Linked DNA regions of Homo sapiens: region 1 is linked to region 2. The links are contacts of gene promoters, found by promoter capture Hi-C in blood cells and fetal thymus (Javierre and others, 2016). All regions are on one chromosome and are shown on one strand. The core of a region is centred on a gene start or on the middle of the fragment in contact, and the rest is flanking DNA. Distances in the headings are between cores, read along the strand shown. Region 1 holds the start of OR10W1 (olfactory receptor family 10 subfamily W member 1). Region 2 holds the start of OR5B17 (olfactory receptor family 5 subfamily B member 17).

The links. The method cuts DNA at HindIII sites, captures the fragments that hold promoters and counts their contacts. A CHiCAGO score of 5 or more calls a contact.
Region 1: the fragment with the promoter of OR10W1 here is called in contact with the fragment with the promoter of OR5B17 in region 2 in 9 of 17 cell types (neutrophils, fetal thymus, naive CD8 T cells and 6 more); the score reaches 15.1 in neutrophils.

The regions. Positions count from the first base shown.
Region 1 is chr11:58,266,469-58,271,003 of GRCh38, forward strand. OR10W1 (olfactory receptor family 10 subfamily W member 1) reads right to left here and starts at 1,792. Exons shown (of 1, transcript NM_207374.3): 1 at 324-1,792. The coding sequence starts at 1,390. The coding sequence ends at 473. The HindIII fragment of the contact is 7,272 bases long and covers 89-4,535 here.
Region 2 is chr11:58,356,499-58,361,151 of GRCh38, forward strand. It overlaps OR5B17 (olfactory receptor family 5 subfamily B member 17), which reads right to left and starts at 2,571. Exons shown (of 1, transcript NM_001005489.2): 1 at 1,626-2,571. The coding sequence starts at 2,571. The coding sequence ends at 1,627. The HindIII fragment of the contact is 4,652 bases long and covers 1-3,110 here.

The DNA of each region.
Region 1 (4,535 bases), core at 542-3,041, 91 kb before region 2:
GTTTATCTGCTTAGATCTAACTGTCACTGGACTCTGATAATGTTGCACCCTTCTTCTATGGCACACCTTTTAAGTCTAGGGCTGAGAAAGCTTCCTGCTATTGCTAGCGTGTTAGTGCTCTGCCACATTTTATTGGTTTCCTTACCTATAACCACTGCAGATAACCCTTTTTAAATATTTTTTTAGTTAAAAATCTATTGAGTGAGCTATCTCTTCTCAGCTGGTAACTGGACAAAGTATTATACTTGCCACTTTATATCACTTTATGCTCATGTAGTTCTTTCCAAGAAGAGAAATTACAGAGTCAAATTGTAGAAATATTTAAAAATCTTTGGCACACATAAACAGTATCCATATAATTTATACCATCTTTTAGATGAGTTTTAACACCAAATGATAGAAATCTCAGTTTCATACAGATTTGGTGGGCTGGAACCAAATACTTGCCTGATAGGCTGTCCCCTCGTCTTTCCTAGCTGTTCTGGGAAAGGCAGTTCCTGGTAAGAACTCTCCCTACGGCCCCTTTCATCTCACTGTTCCTCAGGGCATAGATAAGTGGGTTGAGCAGTGGGGTTCCCAATGTGTACACCAGTGAGATGAACCGATCTTGCTTGGGGTTGTAGCTGGAGCTGGGGCACAGGTACATGAAGGCACAGCAGCCATACTGCAGCAGCACCACAGTGAGGTGGGAAGAGCAGGTGGAGAAGGCCCGGTGGCGGCCAGCAGCCGAGTGGATCTTGAGCAGAGCAGCCACTATGAAGGTGTAGGAGGTGGTGATGAGGAAGAAAGGCACAGCAATGGCTAGTATGGCTGCCACCAGCACTGACTGCTCATGAATGTGACTCTGAGCACAAACAACATGCATGACTGGTGGCACATCACAAAAGAAGTGCTCAATGCCCTGAGCCTGGCAGAATGGCAGAGAGAAGATGAAGGCCACCAGTTGTAAGGACAGGAACAGACCACTGATGACTGATGCCACAACCAAGTGGACACAAAGAGTCAATGTCATGAGGAGAGGGTACTGCAACGGGTGGCAAATGGCCACATAGCGGTCATAGGCCATGGCAGCCAAGAGGAAGCAATCAGCACTGCCCAGTGCAATGAAGAAAGCCATCTGGGTGGCACAGCCCAGGAGAGTGATGGTCTTCTCTGACTGTAGGGTGTTGGCCAGGATATGGGGCACCACCACTGCAGTGTAGCATATTTCAATCCCAGAAAGGCTGCCCAGGAAATAGTACATGGATGTGCATAGACAGGTTTCTGTGTGAATGGACACCACAATGAGAATGTTCCCAGTGATGATCAAACCATAAACCAGGCTGACCCCAAGGAAGGACAGAATATGCAGTTCTGGGCAGGAGGGATAGGCCAGGAACACAAATTCCATCAACACTGAGTGATTTTCCCAGGTAATTGAGCTAACAGTATTTCTCTGTGGAGAGCTACAAGTACAGAAGGAAGAATCAGACTGAAGATAAATTAAGTTACACTCTGAGCCATGAATCTAATGTAATCAGCACTGGAGTTAGAAACTGGAAGGATCAAGACTAGTTCTTTTTCTTTTCTCCACTTTTACCAAGTTTCTCCACATTAATATCTACACCTCAATTTCTACCTGCCAAGAGTTGGGCCAAACTATGTAAGATACTATTGAAGAAAAATGGCAGAGGAAGTGGGTGGGATTCAGGAGCTATTTTCAGAAAGAGTGGAATGAAAATTCAATTCTTTCAGCAAATTCACAAGAAAGTGTCAAGGAATTCTTGGGGCTAGAAATCATTAAGGTAAGGGAGATAAGCCATTTATTCATTCACTTATTCATTCACATATTTATTAGGTTGGTGCAAAAGTAGTTGCGGTTTTGCCATTTTGATGGCAAAAACTGCAATTACTTTTGCACCAACCTAATATTTACACTCAATATCTCCTGGGGTATTGAATAAGTGATATGTCAATGTAACTCTCAAAACTAGTGATGGGAAGTGAAGAAAGAAAAAAAATTACCCATGAAGCAAAGGGCTAACAGAGGCCTGAGTATGACAGTGTCAGGGATACGCCTCAGAAAGCAAAGCCCTGTCTACTATTGGTTTTTCTATCCTTATCTGACCAGAAGTATAAGGCTTGAAGGAAACAAGGTGTTTTATCATATGTTTCCTCCTGGCGTGGGTGGAGGTATGAGAAAATATGTGATCCCAAGATGTTGGAAATCTAAGAAGCCTTCCTGTGAATTTGGGCATGATTATGAAAGTCTAAGCCCATCTATTTTTCATATTTCTCAGAAGCTAATGTGAAATCTGGGAGAAGCCATATCTTTTCCACAAAAACCTTTTAATAAACAGACGTAATTTGCAAAGGGCATCCATTCCACTTCTTTTCCCAGACCAACTCATATTAAATAAGGTGGAAAAGACGTAATGTGTGGCCTTGTTTCAACGTGCCAAATTTTAATATTTCCTGTCATTGAATATGAGATTTGAAGAGAAATCTCTACCCAGAGGCACCACTTCCAGTAAAAATTATTCACACAAACCCACCTCAGTGTCACAAGCATGGGGAAAAATATGAGTAGGCAGCTACAAATATTAAGAGCACCTAGGGCAGAAATGGCTCTCTGCTGTTTTTCCAACAGCTAACAAGTGGTATCTATTTCAGTTGGTCTCTTTTCCTGAGCTGAACTTCAATAATGCTTTGAGTGGTTTCTAATGCCACTTAGCATATTGCACATTATACTATATCATGTGGAGGAGGGGCAGTGTATCAATGTGAAATCAGCAGTGAAGGGAAGTGATGTGGTTTGAATAATTCCAGCTCCTGGCTTCATGATGTTAGGTAATATATAATTTCTCTAAGCCTCAATTTCTGTATTTGAAAAATGGGAATAATAATTATACTTAGACAAAAGAATTGCTGTAAGTTTAAATGCAATAGTAATGTAAGATATCACAATGAACTGTCCATAGTAATGGCAACCTAATAAAAGATAATCATCATTATTATTTATAAATTCAAGGGCAGCCATTCTGCTTTATTTACATTTTGATCATCCCATATAAGCACGCCTAATGTTGTGCAAATTTTAGACACTCAATAATTATATGTCGAATGGATAATACAGCTTGAAAATGTTATTTATACATTTTCTTCATTTTCTACTTTCACTTTGCCGTGCAATGAAAGATTTAAGATTATTCATAATCAAATCACTTGTTTAGGAGTCCTTATATAAAACAACTTCGTATCTAAGATTTGGGCTGCACTGTGGAAATAATTCTATCATTCAAGAACATAGCATATGGAAGTCTACAACAGGCACACATCTAAAGGCTAGTCTACCATCTATATTATTATACAGAGACAGTTTGAAATCTGTGTCACAATGACAACTTCTGAGAATTTTATTGTAGTCTATTACATTCATATCATCTTTTCAAAAAGTTATATTTTGTTTTTAATTGACAATAATAATTGTACAATGTGATGCTTTGATACATATACACATTGTGGAATGATCAAATCAGGCTAATCAGCATATCCGTCATGTCATATAGTTATCATCTGAATACTGCTCTCTATAATATTTGTAATCTGAACACTCCACCTATAATAAAATATTTAAAATATTTACATCAGAGCTATTATAAGTCATAAATTCTAACTGCAAGAAGGGACCTCAAAAATGGCCAATTTGATCCCCAGTTATTAGATACTTGAATTTCCAATACAGTGTGTAGACACTGGGTCACCTTCAATGCCCAGGGAATCCCATTATCTCCTGGTTTGCTTGCTCTGCTGTGGAAAGACTGGATTCTCTGAAAGTCATTTCTGTAATAAACTGAAGCCTGCCTCTGTGCAACTTCTAAATGTTCCTTTGTTCTACACAATATGGCCATTTTTTTCTTTCTTTCTCTCTTTCTCTCCCTTTCTTTCTTTCTTTCTTTCTTTCTTTCTTTCTTTCTTTCTTTCTTTCTTTCTTTCTTTCTTTCTCTCTTTCTCTCTTTTTCTTTTTTTAGATGGAGTTTCACTCTTGTTGTCCAGGCTGGAGTTCAATGGCATGATTTCAGCTCACTGCAACCTCTGCCTCCTGAGTTCAAGCGATTTTCCTGCCTCAGCCTTCCAAGTAGCTGGGATTACAGGTGCCTGTTACCAGGCCCAGCTAATTTTTTGTATTTTTAGTAGAGGTGGGCTTTCACCATGTTGACCAGGCTGGTCTTGAACTTCTGACCTCAGGTGATCCACCCGCCAAAGTGCTGGGATTACAGGCGTGAGCCACCGCACCCGGCCCAATATGGCCGTTTCTACTCAAAACACCAGATGCTAAAGCGCTGTTATCCTGTAGCCCTGTTTTTTTTTCTTCCTAATTTCCTTTTGCTATTTCTCATATGACATGGTTTTGATGTGTCTCACAATTTAAGCTCTGGAAGTGTTCTCATTTAAAATATCTTTTAAAAAATTGTGCAGCCTGTGACAGATCACAGGAATGGTTACATTAAATAGATCTAGACAGATAAAATAGTGGAGTTCATGGTTCCAAGACA
Region 2 (4,653 bases), core at 1,321-3,820:
AAATTTGATTACACTTTATTTTTCTTCATTAAAAATATTACCTAATGTACCTTGCTATTTCCATTAGCTCTTTTGTTTTCTTCAAAGAATGATATAATTTTAGCTCTTACATTTAGGTTTGTAGTCCATTATGAATTAATTTTGTGTATGATGTGAGACAGGGGTCCAACTTCATTCTTTTGTGTGTAGGCATTCAATTATCCCAAGACTATTTGTTGAAAAGGCTACATGCCCTCATTGAGTCCTTTGGGCCCTCTTACAGGGTATCAACTGACCACAAATGTAAGGGTTTATTTCCGGGTTCACAATTCTATTCCATTAGTCTATATGTCTATTCTTATGCCATTACCATACTATCTTGATTACTACAGTTTTTGTTGTAACTTTTGAAATTGTGGTGTGAGAGGACTCCAACTCTGTTCTCTTTTTAAAATATTATTCTGGGCTTTTAAATTTCCTTATGAATTTTAGGATAAGTTTACCAATTTCTGCAAATAAGCCAGCTGGGATTTGAGAGGAAGTGTATTTAATCTGAATATCAATTAGGGAATGTGGCCAGCTGTACAATGTTGGTTCATAATCAAGTAATGTTTTCCTTTATTTAGATTTTATTGAACATCTTTCAACTAGGTTTTATAGTTTTAAGAATATAAGCATTGCAGTTCTTTTTGTAATCGTTTTTACTGTGCATCTTATTTTTGATGGTTCTGTAAATGGAATTTTCTTCATTTTATTTTTAGATTACCTATTGCTAGTATATAGAAATACCACTTATTCTGGTATGTTGTTATTGTATCCCTGACACTTTACTGAATTGATTTATTAGTTCTAATAATTTTTAGGGGATTACTTATGATCTTCTGTTTTTTGAGACGGAGTCTCGCTCTGTCACCCAGGCTGGAGTCCAACGGCACGATCTCAGCTCACTGCAACCTCCGCCTCCTGGGTTCAAGCGATTCTCCTGCCTCAGCCTCCCAAGTAGCTGGAACTACAGGCATCCACCACCATGTCTGGCTAATTTTTTTGTATTTTTCGTTGAGACAGGGTTTCATCACGTTGTCTCGCCTGGTTTTGAACTCCTGACCTCAAGTGATCCACCTGCCTTGGCCTCTCAAAGTGCTGGGATTACAGGCATGAGCCACTGGGCCAGGTCATGATTTTATATTTTAAATAGCAAACAGAGATTCTTTTATTTCTTTCTCTCAGTTCAAGATGTCTTTGATAGTCATAGGCTAAGTTTAAAAAAAAAAGAATTATCTCTGCCTTTTAATTCTAATATATTATTATTCTAATATAGTTATTTACCATTTATAAATTGTCATATGAACAAGCTGTACCAAATACCTAAAATTATTAATGCCTGAAATATTAGTTTATTAAGAAACAGTAATGACTCATAGTTGGCTAAAATATGACAAGAGACAACACATATTTCATTAAACTCCATGAGAAATTGTCATCGTATTTTTCTAACTCGTGGATACTTAGAACTGTTTCTCAACTAAAGACAAAAATAATATTAGATGAAATTTTACATTCTATATACCATATAGCATTTTAACATTTGAGTTATTGTATAAAGTAGATCTAAGTGAGATAAAATAACATTGTGATGATTTTGCATCATTAAAAGACTGAATCTAGAGAATATTTTGCCTTCTCAACAACCTTCATGAATGCATTCTTCACGTCTTTGTTCCTCAGGGTATAGACTATAGGACTGAGCATGGGGATGATCATAGTGTAGAACACAGATGCAATTTTGTCTGTGTCCATGGAATGACTGGAACTTGGTCGTATGTACATGATGATGACAGTTATATAAAATAAGAAAATGGCAATGAGGTGAGAACCACAGGTAGATAAAGGCTTCTGGTATCCCTTACCTGTGTGCCTCTTAAGAATGGTGATCAATATGAACAGATAGGAAATCAAGGTAACAAGAAGTGCAAAAAAGACATTAAAACTTGATATAAGAACAAGAATCAACTCACTAATGTGTTTCTCAGAGCAGGTCAGAGTAATGACTGCTGGTTTGTCACAGAAAAAGTGATGAATCACATTGGACATGCAGAAAGAGAGGCGAAATGTATCTCCAATTTGGATAGAAGCATTCAGAAAACCAATGACATAACAGCCTATAGCCAGACAAGCACACACACGTGTTGTCATGGTGGTGGTATAATGTAGGGGGTTACACACTGCTGCGTAGCGGTCATAGGCCATTGAGGACAAGAGGTAATTTTCCACAGTGGCAAAGACTGCACAAAAGAACATCTGAGCAGCACAGGCACTGTAGGAGATGGCTTTGTCTTCTATAAGCAACCCAGTTAAAACCTTTGGAGTGACAGCTGAGGAGTAACCAATGCCTGCAAGAGACAGGTTACTGAGAAAAAAGTACATGGGAGTGTGGAGATGAGAGTCCAGCAGGATTAATATGATCATCCCCAGGTTCCCAGTCAGAGTGATGAGGTAGATGAGGGTAAACATGATAAAGAGGGGAACCTGTAGTTCTGGGGCATTGGTTAGACCAAGCAGGATGAATTCACTCACCTCTGTATTATTCTCCATGGATGTTATTTTAGAATCACAAGATACTCTGTAGCAAGGAGAGATAAAAAAGAAAAACCCTGTGATGAACAAAACAGAGTTGCACAAAACTGAAATGTATGTGTTATTTTATTATAGCAATGATTTGTTTTCTATATTTCCTAGATCAAAATTATGGATATGAAAACACAATTTAGTGGATAACTTATCTATACAGTAATAGACTTTTGAAGAAAAAGGGTCTTCGTGGATCATCTTTCCAGCTTCTTAATTTTGTGTCTGAGTAAATGGAGTCATAGGAAGGGAATAATGAGTTGTCCAATGTCACATGCCTGAAGTGAATCTATCTCCCAAATAATATGTTTTTTGAATCTAACATCTTAAACACACTTATAGTTGTCTCATGCCAGATGCTTTATATGTACATCCTCATAGAATTCTCTCATTAATCCTATTATTTAATTAGTTATTATTGCCAATTTATACATGAAGTATCTTGGTAGAAAAAAAGAGTTTGAATAATTTATTCAAGATTACACAAGCACCAGTAGATAGAACCAAGCTTTAGACACAATCAGGGTGGTTCCCAACCTAAATTAAAAGAATTAAAATTCTTTTAATGAATTTGAATTATTTTAAATGTTAATCTATTTATATGTACTCATTCTATCTATTATACCAAGCATAACATATGAAGTTGCATAGTAGAGCAATGCACAAATAAATGCATACTAGATGAAGTGGAATAAATGCAGCATTAATGTCATGTGCAACCAACAAAGCCAATTCTGCAGAGAAGATATAGCATTGGGTATAAAATCTAGGACTCTAAGAAGAGGTAGATTTGTATTAACTCATAAGCCCTAACATTTACTACTTGGGAGACACTGGTCTTAATCTAACTTCCTTGAATCTCATTTTATCCATTAGTCAAATGAAGATGATATTAGGACTTATGTCAAGAGATTATTTTGAGAGTTAAATGAGATAATGCTCAGCTGTTGGCAAAATGTGGGCACTCAGCACAGTCCTGATGAGTGCTAGCTATAATATTATTATTAGGATGGAATGGTGGTGCATATGTTGGTGTAGAACACATAGAGGTGACACACAGGGCTGAAGGTGTGGGTGGGTTTTCAAGTTGGCAGTTTTACTCTGTCTGATCTGTATTTTCTTACACACTATGTCCAGTCTTTTGTTTCCTTCAGCATTTCTCACTCTATCCATTCTTTGCCAGGTGAATGACTGTGTCAGCCATCTAGCATGAGAACCCAGGGATCTTCAAGTCCTGTTGTGTTTAATTTCTCCCTTTCAAACTACATTTTACCTTGTGTTGAAACAATCCCCTTTTATCTTAGACACATTCTTCCTGTCATTACTCTCAACACTTAGCAGGATATCAGATATTGAGGGTTGGAGGTTCGTAGTCTTGGGGGCTGACTGTAGGCTGCAGATGTGTTTATGCACAATCTTTTTATTTGAATTTGAATCTGTCAGAAGGACATTCATTTCCTCATAACCACTATTGATTGTCTATCATTTTTCTCCTGCCCCCAGTACACATCAGTTGACACTTCTAGAATTCAAATTATTTGTTTGCCAAAAAACTACCCACATAATAATATAAGCTACAATTTTTATTGTTTTTCTTTAAAAATTTACTATGTTCTATGACAACTGAAAGGTTCTCACTGTACCTACCTGGATAATCTAGGATAATCCTACCATCTCAACATGTTAATTTAATCACTGTGAAGTTTGTAAAAAAATCACATAAGGCCACATGTTTATGGGTTTCAGAAGTTAAGATATGACCACCTTTGGGGAACATTATTAAGGCTGCCATAATGAGTATGAATATTATATATCATAGGTAAATTATCTCTAGAATCAGAAATGGTTGAGACATCTTCACAGATCACATAGCCAACTTCCTAATTGTATATATGAATCACTAGAGGAGCAGAGAAAGTATTAAATTCTCAAGTTCACATATCTGGAATACATTGATTTTATAAATCAGATCTTCTAAAGTTACTAGCAGCTTAGCCTTTGTACTTATGAACCAGTTTGTTTCATGAATGATAGAGAGATGATAGATTG